Linked DNA regions of Homo sapiens: all the other regions are linked to region 1. The links are contacts of gene promoters, found by promoter capture Hi-C in blood cells and fetal thymus (Javierre and others, 2016). All regions are on one chromosome and are shown on one strand. Each heading gives the region's core, a stretch centred on a gene start or on the middle of the fragment in contact. The rest is flanking DNA. Distances are from core to core; before and after follow the strand shown. Region 1 holds the start of PPP2R2B-AS2 (PPP2R2B antisense RNA 2). Region 2 overlaps STK32A-AS1 (STK32A antisense RNA 1). Region 3 has its middle 78 kb from the start of STK32A-AS1. Region 4 overlaps STK32A (serine/threonine kinase 32A). Region 5 has its middle 130 kb from the start of STK32A-AS1. Region 6 overlaps STK32A-AS1 (STK32A antisense RNA 1).

What was found. The method cuts DNA at HindIII sites, captures the fragments that hold promoters and counts their contacts. A CHiCAGO score of 5 or more calls a contact.
Region 2: a fragment that was not itself captured here is called in contact with the fragment with the promoter of PPP2R2B-AS2 in region 1 in 4 of 17 cell types (naive CD8 T cells, total CD4 T cells, naive CD4 T cells and 1 more); the score reaches 9.7 in naive CD8 T cells.
Region 3: a fragment that was not itself captured here is called in contact with the fragment with the promoter of PPP2R2B-AS2 in region 1 in 4 of 17 cell types (naive CD4 T cells, total CD4 T cells, total CD8 T cells and 1 more); the score reaches 6.5 in naive CD4 T cells.
Region 4: a contact is called between a fragment that was not itself captured here and the fragment with the promoter of PPP2R2B-AS2 in region 1, in 1 of 17 cell types (total CD4 T cells). The highest score is 5.4, in total CD4 T cells.
Region 5: a contact is called between a fragment that was not itself captured here and the fragment with the promoter of PPP2R2B-AS2 in region 1, in 1 of 17 cell types (total CD8 T cells). The highest score is 5.1, in total CD8 T cells.
Region 6: a fragment that was not itself captured here is called in contact with the fragment with the promoter of PPP2R2B-AS2 in region 1 in 4 of 17 cell types (naive CD4 T cells, total CD4 T cells, total CD8 T cells and 1 more); the score reaches 13.9 in naive CD4 T cells.

The regions. Positions count from the first base shown.
Region 1 is chr5:146,561,871-146,564,882 of GRCh38, reverse strand. PPP2R2B-AS2 (PPP2R2B antisense RNA 2) reads right to left here and starts at 1,657. Exons shown (of 6, transcript NR_188288.1): 1 at 1,412-1,657. The HindIII fragment of the contact is 13,845 bases long and covers 233-3,012 here.
Region 2 is chr5:147,180,805-147,183,504 of GRCh38, reverse strand. The region is part of intron 2 of STK32A-AS1 (STK32A antisense RNA 1); the gene reads left to right. Among named protein-coding and RNA genes, the nearest start is that of STK32A-AS1, 53 kb to the left of the region's middle. The HindIII fragment of the contact is 4,960 bases long and covers 1-2,700 here.
Region 3 is chr5:147,155,394-147,158,430 of GRCh38, reverse strand. No RefSeq gene overlaps it. Among named protein-coding and RNA genes, the nearest start is that of STK32A-AS1, 78 kb to the left of the region's middle. The HindIII fragment of the contact is 3,896 bases long and covers 1-3,037 here.
Region 4 is chr5:147,243,439-147,246,138 of GRCh38, reverse strand. All of the region lies in intron 2 of STK32A (serine/threonine kinase 32A), which reads right to left. Among named protein-coding and RNA genes, the nearest start is that of STK32A, 9.8 kb to the right of the region's middle. The HindIII fragment of the contact is 8,414 bases long and covers 1-2,700 here.
Region 5 is chr5:147,101,611-147,104,517 of GRCh38, reverse strand. No RefSeq gene overlaps it. Among named protein-coding and RNA genes, the nearest start is that of STK32A-AS1, 130 kb to the left of the region's middle. The HindIII fragment of the contact is 6,090 bases long and covers 1-2,907 here.
Region 6 is chr5:147,203,514-147,206,249 of GRCh38, reverse strand. All of the region lies in intron 1 of STK32A-AS1 (STK32A antisense RNA 1), which reads left to right. Among named protein-coding and RNA genes, the nearest start is that of STK32A-AS1, 30 kb to the left of the region's middle. The HindIII fragment of the contact is 3,791 bases long and covers 1-2,736 here.

The DNA.
Region 1 (3,012 bases), core at 408-2,907:
GCAGAGAAGACAGCCTCATACTTATAATCAATACCATTTATTAAGGGGTTAACTCTGTGCCAGGCACTGCTAAGTATTTTAAATACCCTCACAACAAACCTATGAGATGACGTTATCATCCCCATTTTTTAGATGGACAAATAAGTTCCAAGAGGTTTCTAACTTGCCCAAGATAAGAGCTGGGGAGACATGAAGGCAGAGCATGAATCCAAATGCATCTTACTACAAAGCTTATACCCTTAACCACCTATAAAGAATAACAAAACAATAAGGTGAGTCTTTCTTTTGGTCACCCAGAAGAGTCTGACTCAGACATTGTTGCTTCCTGGCACAAAGGACAATGAAATCCTTTCAAATACATGTGCTCTTCTGAAAATCAAATGCAAGGGCCTCCTGCTCAGTGAGGCCAGCCTGTATTTCTTAGTAGAAACAGAGTAGCCAACTGCTCAGGGCACATAAAAGCTATTTTAGGAGAAACCATCTCAGAATGGAAAAAGAAAGAAGGTTGAATCTTATGACATGATTTCCCCAAACACTGGTGGGGAATTGTTGTAAAATGTCTCATAAAATCCCATCATATGTACAAATGGCATGGACTTAAACAAGCTGAACAACGATTGAGTGAGTCATTGAACATTTGGGCTGGATTTCCAACAGCCAGGAGAGCCCCAGGCACAGTTCTTTGTTTACAGGTGCTAAACAATCCATCACAACCCCTCCTTTTAAGCTCTGTCCTCCCTCTCCCTAGGCCTACCTCTCTTGTCCTCCCTCTCATTCCCTTGATAGGTTAGTCTATGTGTTTTCTAATAACAGTTTCAGGTGACCGAAGTCATCTATCTTTCTGGACCTTATTTATAGGTAGGCAGATTCTAAATTTAGGCCTCTATAAGCAGCTCCAGGCAGACTGCTTGACATCCAAGCAATGAACAAAGATGAATGCAAGAGCACTGGGTGACTTAAGGTGTGCAGTAGATTTATGGAATGGTGGCTGTAGTCCAATTAAAAGAAATAAAACTTCCATTCTAATGCTACTACCCTAGAATTCACAAAATCTAAAATAACTGTTATTGACTTTACCTATACGTTGTCTATGAAATAAAAGTATCCTAGATCAATTAACATTTTCAAGTACTTTAGTAAAACTAACTCCCTGAAATTACATACATTCATCAAAGAGTTATATTTAGCCAGGTTTCACTAATAATAATATTAAGTGCCCAATAAACATCAGCATGTATCAGATCTCATCAGACTAAGTTTTACCACAAGCCTGTGGCATAGATACCATTATAACCACTTTAAAAAAAAAAAGGGAAGAAAACTGAGCCTTGGCGATTAAGTTTGCTGTCCAAGGGTACAAAAACCAGGCAGACACATGATTCAAATCTGAATTCAGAACCATCAAGCATACCTCAAAGACTGGAGCACCAGGCAAGGAAGCCGCAGAAGAAGTTGCTATGAAGGGGAGAGCATTCAATCAATGAGATGTCTTCAGAGTTCTCTTACATTAGATAAGGTCTCTATATTGGGTAGAACTCTACAAATGGTTTGATATTCTCTTAAATTCCCCCATACATACACACACTTCATTCAATATCCCCTAATGTCTAAGAATGTGGGCTTTAGAGTTGGATGGTCCCAGCTTCTGCCACTTTACAGGCTGTGTGGCCTTTAGCAAATTATTTAACCTCTCTAAGACTCATTGCCCTCATCATCTATCAAATGGCAATAACAATTGAACCTGACTCCTAGAATTGTTGTGAAGATTAAACGAAACAGTATACATAAAGAACTTAGAACATGGTAAGAATTCAATAAATCATAGTTATTCAAATGGCTGGCTTCTCTGATTCTTATCACCAGCTGAGTATGGCAAAATATCAGGACCTACTATGTAGTGTTTCATTTTGACAGGTGCAAGATTCCTTTATTCAAGTCAATAAAAACAACAGTAAGAGCAACAGCAGCAACACCAGCTAGTTTACTTTTTATTGAGCATATATCTGCCAGGTCCTGTAAGACATCTCTTAAAATCTTCCTAAGAAGTCTGTTTCCCATTTTACAAATATAGAAAGTTAGCCTGAAAGATGTTAAGCAGCTTGCACAGCTCATGCAACCAAAGAGGGCAGAATCAAGATCCTGAGCCTAGAGCTCCTAACCAGCATGCCTCACATAACCAGGATGCTACGCGTAACCAGCACACTACACGTAACCAGCATGCCACACATAACCAGCATGCTACACATAACCAGCATGCTACACGTAACCAGCATGCTACACATAACCAACATGTTATTCAATGAAACACTAGTCCCATGAGAGAATCTTCAGGGCAAAGGGGAAGGGGAAGCTCTGTGGTCATAGGAATAGGAGAATGCCCTTGCCAGGAGCATCACAATGGACACTAGCATAATAATGGCTCCAAGAAGTCTTTCCATATTCCCTATAGGGACTAGCACAGGTTTGAGCACTCAGTAGGCTACCAATAAAAAGCTCTAAATAATGCCATCCCTGCTCAAAAATATTCAGCCCACAAAACAGAGAACATAAGAAGAGAAAGCCCAGAGCATAGAAAAGATGAGAGGCTCATGGAGAGACATAGCTAATGAGAAAATCCTCAAGGCAGAAAAAGGCTGATATATTATGTGAGCCGAAATTGCCAAATTTTTCTAGATTTGAGGGTAGCCAAAACCTAAAACCCATAAAACACCTAGGAGCCATCCTCAGTTTCCCTCACTCCATTCTTGCCCACACTGAATCCATGGGCGGATTCTCTCTGTACACATAAGACCTGGCCACCAAATTCCAGAGCCTCCAGAAAAACTCGTGACCCCATCTATTTATTGCCATCATGCCACTGATAACTACACTGGTCCAAGCCACCGTCATCTCTCACCTTAACCACTGCAGAAGCCTCCAACTGCCCTTCCCGCTCCCATTCCTCCCCACAACTACAACCTAGTCCACACACAGCAACTAGAGTGACCTTCCCACCACCACCATAAACCAAAA
Region 2 (2,700 bases), core at 192-2,691, 620 kb before region 1:
GTGAAGCTGGAAACCATCATTCTCAGCAAACTATCCCAAGGACAAAAAACCAAACACCGCATGTTCTCACTCATAGGTGGGAATTGAACAATGAGAACACTTTGACACAGGAAGGGGAACATCACACACTGGGGCCTGTTGTGGAGTGGGGGGAGGGGGGAGGGATAGCATTAGGAAGAATACCTAATGTAAATGACGAGTTAATGGGTGCAGCACACCACCGTGGCACATGTATACATACGTAACAAACCTACCCGTTGTGCACATATACCCTAGAACTTAAAGTATAATAAATATATATATATTAAAAAAAAAAAAAAAAAGAAAGCTCCAGCAGCAACAAGGTGCAGACACTGGACGAGAAACAGGAGTGAGAAACAATGGTGAGAAGTCTATTGTGGTCAGCAAGGTGGAAGTGATGGGGCCCTGAATCTGGGCAGTGTCTGTTGTGATGGGCAAAAGAAGAAGTGGATTTGAGAGCCTTTAAGGACAGGCAATTGCTGGGAGCTAGTTAATGTAAATTAGCTTCTTCCAGACCACAAGAAATTGGCCACCAAAAATATAAAATTTGGGGTTGGGAGGCAAATGCAGAAACCCGAAGTCCTTATACGAAGTCAGCTCTGGGGTGGAATAAAACATTCCCATTTATCTGTTTTCTATTTCAAAACTCCTCTTTTAAGGAGATGTAAGAAACATCTATTTTTTGAGCATTGGCATACAATTCTTTGACAACAGCATTTTAATACTAAAAAGTAAGTTATTTACCTTATTTTACTAATATTTCTTGCTTTACATGTAAAAAGTAGAGTCTTAAACAGTCAGTGGCACTTCTCAGTGAAGGAAAAGGTGCTTCCGACTTACAAAGTAAGATGAATCCCAGAGAGCACAAGTCCATTTCAAGGAATTATGCCTAACAAACATTAATTTGTAAAATGCAGTACTAGGAAACATCTCTCCCCGCGTGCCCCAAAAGTCAACATGAAGTTTTAGTGCTTTAGGAAATGAGACAACGAGGCGAAGATTAGATTGCCTTTTCATATAAAGTAATTGGATGCAATAATATTAATGACTTAGGGATGAGACAGAGATTAAATATGCAAGTTTAAATGAGGATGTCCTAAAAATAATCACCTTCAAGAAGGGTGGAGGATCATCAGATGTTGGACAGAAACTGTCAAAAACTTGAGCATAATAATATAAATAACATTTTTTTTGAGACGGAGTCTTGCTCTGTTGTCCAGGCTGGAATGCAATGGTTTGATCTAGGCTCACTGCAACCTCCTCCTCCCAGGTTCAAGCGATTCTCCTGTCTCAGCCTCCTGAGTAGCTGGAAATATAGCGCACACCACCATGCCTGGCTAATTTTTATAGTCTCTAATTTTAGTAGAGATGGGGTTTCACCATGTTGGCCAGGCTGGTCTTGAACTCCTGACCTCAGGTGATCTGCCTGCCTTAGCCTCCCAAAGTGCTGGGATTACAGGTGTAAGCCACTGTGCCCAGCCCATTTTTTTAAGTTTTTATTACTTTTGATATCATCAGTGTTGTCCTATGACCACCCTCCCTTGCAGTGGACAATAGCTATTATGGTTTCAGGCTTCTCAGCTACATAGCATATAATCAATACGCACCTAATTGGTCCAAATTCAATTCAATCTCCTAGTTAGGGGAATACATGGGCTGCTTGTCTTAAGTCAAAGTTAACTGAAAGAATCACTATATTCAGGGGACTGAGATTACTTTGATTAACTTAGACCTGTCAGTGTCCACCCTTGAACCTGGGGATGAAGGCAGCTTAATCTTGTATTTGTTTTCATGCTGCTAATAAAGACATACCCAAGACTGGGTAATTTATAAAGAAAAAGAGGTTTAATGGACTCACGGTTCCACCTGGCTGGGGAGGCCTCATAATCATGGCAGAAGGCAAAGCGGAAGCAAGACCCATCTTACATGGCAGCAGGCAAGAGCTCATGTGTAGGGGAACTTCCCTGTATAAAACCATCAGATCTCATGAGACTTATTCACTATTATGAGAACAGCATGGGAAAACCTGCCCCCATGATTCAATTACCTCCCACTGAGTCTCTCCCATGGCATGTGGGGATTATGGGAGCTACAATTCAAGATGAGATTTGGGTGGGGACACAGCCAAACCATATCAATTTTTTTTTTTTTTTTTTTGAGATGGAGTTTCACTCTTGTTCCCCTGACTGGAGTGCAATGGCGCAATCTTGGCTCACCACAACCTCCGCCTCTTGGGTTCAAGCAATTCTCTTGCCTCAGCCTCCCAAATAGCTGGGATTATAGGCATGGGCCACCACACCCAGCTAATTTTGTATTTTTAGAGGAAACGGGGTTTCTCCATGTTGGTCAGGCTGGTCTCAAACTTCCGACCTGAGGTGATCTGCCCACCTCGGCCTCCCAAGCTGCTGGGGTTACAGGTGTATCAGTCTTAAAGTACAGGGCTGTCTGGGAAAAGGCTGGATACAAACAATGATCTGAGTCCTGCTATAAAGGAAAGTAGGGAATACATTATTAGTCACAGCCTTATCAGCACGAGTGGGAGAGACTTGGCGTTTTCTAATTGTTGATGCCAGATAAGGAAACTTAGCTGAAATATGGGTGTAAATATGAATCCCTTATGTCTTCATACTTTTCAAAGTTCTTTGACATTGAATCTCTTTGGTTCTTCACACAAACTGT
Region 3 (3,037 bases), core at 365-2,864, 590 kb before region 1:
TTTTATATCCAGGCTCTACAAATTACCCCTTGTGTGATATTGGCTAATTTATTAAACTTCTAGCCATATGTTTTATGGTCTATAAAATAGAAACAGTAATAGTAGTAATCTTACAGTCATGATGATTAAATCATTAAATGGCATATCCTTAGAACACTGGTAAGTTTTTAATAAATATTAATTTTATCATAACCATCATCACTCACGCATAATGCCTATTATCAGGCTTCATATTTATAGATGACCAATGGTATTTTAAAATTAATTAATATTGAACAGCCAGGTTGGCACATAATAGGTGCCCAGTAAACTCATTTTGAATGAGTGAATGGGCTAATTTCAGTGTTTGTCACATGGTAGGTGTTTGAAAACCAAATGGGTTTTCTAATGGCCCTACCTTCTCCTTGCCCTACCTTTGCTATCTAATCCTCACTCAGAGGAGCCAGTGACAGAAGAGGCTCCTGGAAATCCCAGGCCAACTCTTCTCTCAGACCTGCCTTAATCAGTGAGAAAACTTTTGGCAAAATGAAAGGGTGCAGCTGCTGGAAATAGAGAAGGAGGTCATGATGCATGACTCCACAAAGGAAAGGGAATATATCCCTTTGGTGTTGGCAGCTGCAAACCTGAGATGACAGACGCTGGCCAATTTCCATCCTCAAACATAGTCAGACCTCTTTGGATTCCCTAGGCACATTTTGGTGAGCTAAAGATGGAGGGGCTCTTCCTAAACCCCAACCTCCCAGACACTCTCTCATGAGTGGGAGAAAGGGACTTAATGATTCCCTGATTACCTACAGCCTCCCTTGGTAGCTGGGTAAACTCTGGCAAGCTACTTCAAAATCTATGTGCTTCATTCATCTCTGAATTGGGAATAAAAGTAGTGCCTGCCTCACAGCATTGCTGTGATGAAATGTGTTAACATGTAATGTGCTGAGAACAGTGCCTGAGTTACAGTATCTGGTAATGCTAGGAGCAATGAATGCTGGTTATTACGAATTACTGTTCTGCTCGGGACACAGGATCTTTGAGCATAGTGTGGGAACAGATGGGGATCCACAGTTTCTTACTATGGAATGCTGGGATCTTGGAGTTTAAATTCTCAGGCTCAATTCCTGGCTGTTCTACTTACCAATGAATTAACTTTGATCAAGTGGATACCTTGTCTGAGTTTCAGTTTCTTCATCCTACATTGGATAAGCCACCCACTTCCCTTTCTCACAAGACTTCTGTCCAAATAAGACAATGTTTCTAAGCTGTGAAGGGTTAGCTATTGCTATTCCCTCAAACAGCTGGGCTTCCTCCAAATACTGCAGCCTTCCCATTCAGTGGAGAGGCTCTGATGGTGATGCAGAGAAGGAGGACCTCAAGTGCTCCTCACAACCCTGTGATTCTAAGAAGGATTCATTCAGCTTTGGGCTGGGCATCTTGGCCCTTGTGTAGTCTGTATGCAGTATTAGCCTGGCTTTGGAAAGGCAGCGTCACTTCTTTTAAAGGGTTACTTGGCTAGTTTTGGACTCATAGCTTCTTCGATATGCTCATAGAAGGGAGTCTCAATAGCAAAGTAAAGGATCGTCTTAACTTTGCTAGTTTGATAACAATAATATCTGATTTATTCAGCACCTGCTGTGTGTCAGGCCTTACTATAGGTACCAAGGATTCATTAAGCCCTGCCTTCATGGAGCTCAGCTTCTCTTTAGAAACCATTCATCTCAAAGGTGAAGAAACTGAGGCCAGGGCTTCACAGGCAAAAGGGCTTGTGCATATTATGTCTTGATTTTGTGGCTGAGCCAAATCTACAGCCCAGGTTCTCAATAGCAGTCCAGACTAAGCAAATTAATTCTCCTTTTCTTCCCTCTGATGTTACCTGTCAACTTCCAGCCTCAAAAGCATGTGGTATACAATGACTGTAAAGAACCATGAGCCTTTAGAGAACGGAATCATTATTTTACATCAGACTCACTGCTCTCTGCATTTTGCTGACAGCATTATTTTTGCCACAGCTTTTTAACAAAAGAAAAGATGCTGGGGGCATAGCAGATAAGATTACTAAAAACTTGCTCAGCATTAGGAGTGACCCCACTGCCTCTTGGGTCTCCACCTTTGCTATTTTCAGCTGCATCCTTTTCTCTGGCTTGTTGCTATGATTTGGGAAATTGCTAAACATTCAAGGGCTTTGTGGGACTGCCTGTGCTGGTTTCCATAGCGAGGGGCGGTTCCGGGTATGGACACACTCCTGCACTAAAGGAAATGAGATTCCCCTATACAAATACCAGTGGCTCCTTACCACCCCTCCTTAGCTTCAGCAAAGAATAGAACTAACAGAAAAACATAAACTCACGTTGAACATTTTACTCCTTCGGTTTAAGTACTTAACCTTTGAGTGTTCATTTACTAGGCACTTGTTTGCATTTAGATATCTCTGTTGGAACCATCCCTGTGTGAAAGCCATTTACCGCAGGACCAGCTACCACCATTGAGTGCTTTCTGCCATCCAGTATGGTGCCCAGTGGTTTACCCGCATTAGCTCACTTAATGCTCACAAACCCCAAAGAGATAGATAAGGGTAATAGATAAAGATAAACATTTTGCATATAAGGAAATGGAGCCCCAGAGAAGTCAAACCCTTGTTCAAGATTGTACATTCAATAAATGTCAGGCCTGGGACTGGTACTCAAATCTGCCTGACTCCCAAGTCTGAATTTTTTTTTCTTTTCTTTTCTTTTTTTTTTTTTTTGAGACAGAGTCTCACTCTTGTCAACCAGGCTGGAGTGCAGTGGTGTGATCTGGGCTCACTTCAACCTCCGCCTCCCGGGTTCAAGCAATTCCTCTGCCTCAGCCTCCTGAGTAGCTGGGATTACAGGTGCCTGCCACCACGCCCGGCTAATTTTTGTAATTTTGGTACAGACGGGGTTTCACCATGATGGCCAGGCTGGTCTCGAACTCCTAACCTCAAGTGATCCGCCTGCCTTGGCCTCCCAAAGTGCTGGGATTACAGGCATGAGCCACCGCACGTGGCCCCCAAGTCTGAATTCTTAAC
Region 4 (2,700 bases), core at 34-2,533, 680 kb before region 1:
TTAACTTTTCCAACCATTCTAATGCAAAATAATAAATACGAGACAGCATTACTCAAGGCTGCTAAGGGAAAGTCGGAAATTCATTTGCCTATTAAATTGAGTGCAAATAGACCATGATAGACAGTCAAATAACAAAAGAAATTTTCGATGTCCTTCATAGCTGGAATCAATTTAGCAACCTCCTATTTCTTTTGGATTGCAAATCTGTGGCCAATTTTCTTGGCCCAACATTTTAAAGGATCCCATTGCCTCTGTCACTGAAGATGCTGGAAAACTGGAAACAGCCACATATCCTAGGAGATGGTGTTGCCAAATAAAAGTAGAACACTGAGTTTTCAGCAAGTCCAAAGAATAATGCAATAATTGAACTCTCTGCAAACTCAGGGCATTGATGAACTCTTTAGAGCAGCTTTTTAAACTTAAGTCCAAATTTTCTTAGCTATAATATTCTAGAAGAAGGCTGTCTCTTGATTTAACTAAGCCAACTTTATCACCTTTACATTCTTTGTATAAACTTGGATACACATATTACTCATAATGACTGCAAGATTTTTTTTTGTTGCCTCAACTCTGAATTGTAAACAAGTCCACTCTCTCCTGTAAAAATTTCTTTTTTCTAAATCAGCCTGAAAACCTCAATAAGCAAAACCATACCAACCAACCACAAAAACAAACAAACAAAATCTAGTGCATTCAGATAGAGAAAATAAAGTAGATTTTTTAAAAAAGGTTGTAAGCATTAAAAAGAAGTGTTACTTGCACGTCTATTCTTTTATTTCAGAAAACAAAAAATGGTTTTCTGCATCATTAATTATTTCTCAGAATATCCATATGGTAGTTGAGAATGGGGGACAGTTTTCACTGAATCTGTTGATCAAATGGGATTACTTATTAGTCAGTTTGGGACTTAAATCAGACAAAGTAAACTTTAGTTATTTTCATCCCAATTAGTTCTTGATTTTGCCTTAAACAAAAATACAATAACCTCAGGGGGATAAAAAAGATATCAGATGAGATTATGTTTTTGTGCAGTCAATAACTTGGCTTCTTTTAAAGTGTTTTTATATAGGTTTTAACAGAATCCATAAAATCTGCCGTTCTGTTAATCCAGTCAATAGAAACATGAATAGGTCTAATTAACTGTGGAATCGACAGAGTTGCATTTAATTAATTTTGTTTTTCTCAGAACTTAAAGTACTTCAAAGAGTTCACACTAGGAAACTCTGATGTTAGTAAATAACACTTAATTAGCATTAATTGAGTGGTTACTTTATGGGAAATACTTTGCTAAGTGTTTTACTTGCATTATTTATTCAATCCTCACAAAGACCTAATGAAGTATGCCCAATTATTACCTGCATTTTACATACAAAGAAACTGAGGCTTACAAAGGTTAAATAAGTTTCCCCCTCAATTAATTCATTAGTAATTATTTAGGTTTGGAGACTTTTCTTGTGGTACCTCAAGTTTCCTTAGAACACCATATAATTAGTCAAACTGACTCCAGTGTCTGATAATGGTTGACCAGGCTATATCCTCTTTGACTCTTCTCATAGAAACATGTAGATTACTGGCACGTGGCACAGCTGAGACTTGAACCTGTGCATGCCTTTCCAATACTCTAGCCCATCATGCCAGGCTGTGTCCCATTACTAAAACACAAAGCATAATTAGGTAGAAGACAGTATGATGGTTCCTCAGAGAGTCAAACAAGGAATTATATGATCCAGTGCTTCCACTACTAGGTATATACCCAAAAGAATTGAAAACAGGGACTTGAACAGACATTTGCACACCAATGTTTATAGCAGCCTTATTCACAAAAATCAAAAGGTGAGGACAATCAATGTCAACTAATGAAAAGATAAACAAAATGTGGTATATCCATACAATGGAATACGACTCAGACTTAAAAAGAAAGAGAATCTTGACACATGCTGCAACATGGATGAACCTTAAAAATATATGCTAAATGAAATAAACCAGATGCAAAAGAACAAATCTTATATGTTCCATTTATATGAGGTACATAGAGTAGTTAAATTCATAGAGACATAAAGTCAAATGGTTGTTAACAGGGACTGGGGAGGGGATGGAATGTGGATGTTATTGTTTCAGAGGTACAAAGTTTCAATTCGAGAAGAGAAATGTTCTGAAGATGGGTAGTGGTGATGGTTGTATGATAACGTGAATGTGCTTAATGTCATAAACCGTATATTCTAAAATGATTAAATGGTACATTTTGTTATATACATTTTACCACAATAATAAAAAAAAAGTAATTAGGACTTAAGATTTGCCCTAAAACATAAAAGCTAAAACTGCAAAACAATAGTATAATTTGAGATCTAATTTATGAAAGATATCTTATATAATCAAATAAGCAAGCCGTTTTTTTTTGGACAGAGTCTTGCTCTGTTGCCAGGCTGGAGTGCAGTGGAGCAATCTCAGCTCACTGCAAACTTCACCTCCCAGGTTCAAGAGATTCTCCTGCCTCAGCCTCCTGAATAGCTGGGACTACAGGCGCACACTGGCATGCCCAGCTAATTTTTTTTGTATTTTTTAGTAGAGATGGGGTTTCACCATGTTGGCCAGGATGGTTTCGATCTCTTGACCTCGTGATCTGCCCGCCTCGGCCTCCTGAAGTGCTGGGATTACAGGCGTAAGCAACCATGCCTAGCCTGAAAATCTCCTACTTTG
Region 5 (2,907 bases), core at 4-2,503, 540 kb before region 1:
CCGCCTCGGCCTCCCAAAGTGGTGGGATTACAGGCGTGAGTAAACTTTAAAACTATGTGGATTTCAAGCAAATATTTCCACATTTTTAGGATCTAGCCACAAAGTGTCAGTCAGAAGGAAAAACAGATTAGGATTTAGGCTGAAGGTTTAATACATAAAAATCCATTCATCTCAAAATTTACTGTGAGTACCTGCTGTGTTTTATATTTTTATTTTTTACACTGTGTTTAGAGCTAAGGCAGTAACAGAAGAAAAGCGAGATCTCTATAGAGGCTTTTTCGCCAACCAAAGGCTATTGCTCTTATTCCAGAATTTCTTTGGGAAGGTTTTTCCTCCGCTTCACTGGGCTCAGGTGATTGGATGGGGCTCACTACATGCCCATTAGGTCTGGGGTGGGCACATAACTGAAGTTGCCTACACTGAGATATATGTAGGAGTGGCTAGGGAAAGGCAGTGTATTTTCCACTGCATTTGTTGCTGTGAGAATATGAACACAGCCCCCTAACACAAGGTATGAGCCTACCTGGAAATAGCAGAGGGAAGCAGATCTGAGAAAGGGAAGTAGATCTGAGAGAGGGAGACTGAACCCTGATGGCAACTTGTGAGACCCCAGACCCAGCTGTCCCTGACCTATCCCTGGACTTTAGGTTACATGAACAAATAGATATATTTATAGGGCTCAGAGTCTTGACTTATTCAATACCATCTTCACATATCAATATTTGTGGAATGCCTATTATGTTTATGGTATTAAAGTCTGCCTACAGGTAGCTTATTAATCGGGGAAATAAGTTTCACAAACATGGAAGAATTAGAGAATATAATGATTGCTGTTTCAGACAAGGCAGACATCAATGTGGGCCAAAGGCTTTTGAAAGGAAGTGGGACTTGAGCTGAGAATATGAATTTATGTACAACCCACACTTCGTTTTTCATTAAATATGTCAGCAGAGCAATATTTTGGGACCTTTTGGGACCTTTTATTGGGACCTTTTATTCACAGCAAAACTGACACACATCTGCTCAAATAAATTGATGTTCCAATCTCAAGTGACTCATTTGGCAGGAAAAACAATTTCATTTCTTATTATAAATAGAAGCAGTAAAAGAACACATAAGAAAATGAGGATGTAGAAAAGACATTTTAAAAGTGTATGAAGATGGATAGTAACAGTGTAGTTGTAATTGCCATGGGGGCAGCGGTGGTAGTTGGAAGAAGAGGAGGAGGAGTAATGGTAATAGGATGATGGTAATAGTAATAATAGTGGTAGTAATATGGTGGTATTGATAGTGGTTACAGTAGTAATAATAATGTGGTTCTTACTATTTAGTTCTCACTATCTGGTGGCTTTGCTAAGAGATATAAAGGCATTTTCTTATATAACCCTCACAACAGCCCTAGGAAGTGAATATCACTAATATCTTCACTCTAGATAGAAGGCCCAAGACTGAGATGCTGGGGTCTAATCTCAAAACTTTTGTATTTCACCACTACGCTATTCTGTTCCATTTCTACCTCTGAAAAGTTACCATTCAGTGTATGTACAGATACCTATAAAGGTACAAGAATATTTCAGACCTCAACTTGGATATGGCTTCTAAAGTCTGCATCAGAGGCAACTACTGGACCAGCTATCATTTAGGGCCCTACAGTCACTGCGAGTGTCCCTGTTGGGGGGCTATCATGCTAGTGAGAAACAGGTCAGTCTCCTCTGAAGAATAGGTTTTCAATAATACTCCAGGAAAATTGTTTATGCAAAAGAATTTTGGGTAACAAATGCTGGAGAAATGATGCATTACTGTCTTTAAATTTGAATGCTTTCTGGAGTGCAGCTTATGTGTTTTACTTGGTAAATACACATTGGATAGGACAATGATGTTTTGAAAACACCTCTTACCAAACCATGTTTATCAAATATAATCGAATTGAGTCAGTTCGACTTTATTTTGGACCTCCTGCTTATTCAGATTCTTCAATTTAACAGTGATTTTTAGATTCTGAATCCAGTTCTAATATGTGACAAATAAAATTAGAGAGCATTTATTAAATTGGATTTGTAATTATTCAACTATCCCAGTGGTTGTCTCTTGAAATCAGTTTTAATATTAAATGTCAGTAATGAGACTTGGGTCTAGGACTGTGTTTCACTCTATTGTTTCCCTAGACTGGTGATGGTTGAATTTTTCATGTTGACTGACATTCCCTATCAGCTCCCCTATATATTTACATCACCTCCATGATGTGGAAAACCTGGCCAATGAGACACCCTATTTCTAAGCCAGTATATCAGAGGCATCCAATAGGAGAGAACATTAAAGGAGATGAAAACAATCTGATCGGAGGCAGAAACAAGAAAGTGCCTGTCTCCATGGTTCCCTGATTTATTCGCTGTATATGACTTTGAGCAACATACTTAGCCTCTCTAAGCCTCAGCTTTCACTTCTGCAGAACGAGAAGTGGAGCTCTTAGGGTTGCTGTGAGGATTAAATAAAGTTATGCCTGGCACACCTTAAGTGATTAGTGAAGGCTACTTGCTATCATCATCATCATCATCATCTTAATTTCAGGAACATAGAGATGGGAATTATTCAGATCACCAACTAAGACAAAGATGCTGCCCTTTGCGTCTGCTGAGGCACATGAAGACCAGAGCCAGCTGATGACTCAGTCACTGTGCCCTGCAACAAAAGCCTGAGCAAGCAGAGAAGAGAGGGTGACTGGAGAAATGAAGAGTATTAGCTATAGGGGCAGATGCCTACATTTCTGTGAATAGCAATAGCAACAGGGCAATGAAAAGCAGGAAAATGACCCTGCTTTTCTGTAGGGTGCGATCTCACGTGTTCTTGTCAGTGTTTCCTGGGAGGATTTTAAACTCCCAGAAGACACCCTATATGCTTTTTTGAAAG
Region 6 (2,736 bases), core at 146-2,645, 640 kb before region 1:
AGAGTCACTGACCTAAGCAATGGAGCCCATTAGAGTCTAACTTTCACAATGGCTGGAATTGCTTCTGTTTTGTTCATTGGCTCCCTCATGCATAGAACAGTGCCAGGCACACAGCAGATTCTCAGTATCTATTTGGCGAATGAATGAAAGAATACAATATCTAGTAATTGAACACACATTTTTATCATTTTTCTGACCATGATATTTAAGTTTTAGGTTACTCATTTGTCAGATGAGGTTTGGATTAGATGGTCTCTAATATTCCTTCTTTCTAAACACAGAGCATCCTGTAATTGAAATTCTGTTGTGGTGTCACAAAGCCAATGTTGAAATTCAGTGTCTACAACACCTGAGACTTGGCTGTGACCTTCAGTTTTCATCATATAGGAGTTAGTACTTTTGCAGTGCAGATTATGTTCTGTTAAAATATTGGTTTCAATTTTAGTAACAAAATGATATTCACTGGTTTTTTTTTTAAATTTAAACCATAGAGAAAGGTACAGAGGAAAGGAAAGTCCTTCCCTCTGAATCCTTCTCTCAGGAAATAGCCTTCTTTACTTATTTGGTTTGTTTCCTTTCTAGCATTTTAGTGTGCACAGAGTGGTTACTCTTAGACATCTATCATATCAGAGATCTTTAGATTAACTATATCAACAGTCGTTTTGCTGATTGAAAAACAGTCTCAGGAAAAAATAAGATAAATCCATTAATCTAAAGCAATTTCTATCCAAATTAAAGATGATTTGGAAAAAAAATAAAATGCCAATGAATCACTCTTTATTATAAAAGAAAAACATTGCTTTGGCCTTTACTTATAGAAATACACAATAAAAAATGTAAAAGTCACTCAGAATCTCAATATTCTAAATAGACTACATTTTAAATGGTAACTTCCTCTATGTTATGGCTCGAATGTGTCTCCAAATTTTATCTGTTAGAAACTTCACTGCCAAAGCCACACTGTTGGGAGGTGGGGTCTAATGGGAGGTGCTTAGGTCATAAGGGTTCTGCCCTCAAAAATAGACTAATGCCACTATAAAAAGGACCTGTGGTAGTGGGTTCACTCTCTTTTGCCCTTCTTCCTTTCGCCATGTAAGGAACAGCAAGAAGGCCTTCACTAGATGCTAGCACCTTGAAATTAAACTTCCCAGTCTCCAGAACTGTGAAGGAACTCATTTCTCTGCTTTTAAAATTAGTCAGTCTCAGCATAAAACAGACTAACACAGAAATTTGTACCAGGAGAGGGGTGTTACTATAACAAATATCTAAAAATGTGGAAGGAACTTTGATACTGGGTAATGGAGAGAGGCTAGAATAGTTTTGAAGTGAATGCTGAAAAAAGCCTTTATTGCCATGAATGGAGCATGGAGGGTGATTCTGGTGAGGGCTCAGAAGAAAAGAAGAGCTGTAGGGAAAATCTGAATCTCCTTGGATATTATTTAAGACGTCATGACGAGAATGCTCATAGAAAAACAGACAATAAAGGTCATTCAGATGAGGTCTTAGATGGAATGAGGAATGTCTCATTGGAAACTGGAAGAAAGGCCATTCTTGTTACAAAGTGGTGAAGAAATTAGCTAGCCAGTCACAGTGGGGCATACCTGTAGTCCCAGCAATTTTGGAGGCCAAAGTGGGTGGATAGCTTGAGGCCAGGAGTTTGAGACCAGCCTGGGCAACAAAGTGAGACCTCCTATCTACAAAAAATACAAAAATAAGCCAGGCATGGTTGTGCACACTTGAAGTTCCAGCTACTTGGAAGGCTGAGGGAGGAGAATCACTTGAGCCCAGGGGCTGGAGGTTGCAGTGAGCTGAGATTGTGCCACTGCACCCAGCCTGGGCAACAAAGCCAGACCCTGTCTCAAAAAAAACAAAAAAGAAAAGATAAAAAAAAAAAAAGAAATTGACTAAACTATGTTCCTGTTCTAGAACTTTGTGGAAGGCAGAACTTAACAGCATGAATTAGGATATTTGGCAGATGAAATCTCTAAGAAGCAAAGCATAGAGAGTGCTATGTGACTTCTCTTAACTGCTCATAGTAAAATGTGAAAACGGAAAAATGATTTAAAGATGAATTTATGATCAAAAGGGAAACAAAACATAGAGATTTGGAAAACTCAATCTGGCCATGTGAAAAACTAAAAATAAAAAAAAATATTTGGGAAGGAAAACCAAGGATGTAGCTAAGCTACCATTGGATGAGAAGAATAGAAGGAAGGTGGGTGCTATTTATAAGACCCACCAATTCTCCAATGGGAGAATGACCCCAAAGGCATTTTAGAGATCTTTGAGGCTGCCCCTCCCATCACAGGCCCAGAGTGCCAGAGCCTTGAGGACAGAATGGTTTGGAGGAAGGGACCTAGGGGACTCACTGGACCACAATGTTCACTGCCCAAGGCTGCTTTAAGTCCCTGCTCCCCACATTTCAGCACAATGCTCCTCAGTCACTCTAGTTGTGGCTCAGGGTCCAGGTGCGGCTTGGGCACTAAGCCTTGGTAATATCTAAGTGGTGCTAATTCTGTAGGCATGCAGAGCACAAGAGCTGGGGAGCCATGACTTTCTCCACCTAGATTTCAAACGATGCCCAGCTCTCTGATTTCTCTATCTCTCTTTCTTACTGTAAAATCGACATTTAAAAATAAAAGCAAAAACAAAATATATGTCACATTTTTTAATCCATTCATCCTGAGATGGACAGTTAAGTTGATTTCATATTTTGGCTATCATGAATAGTGCTGC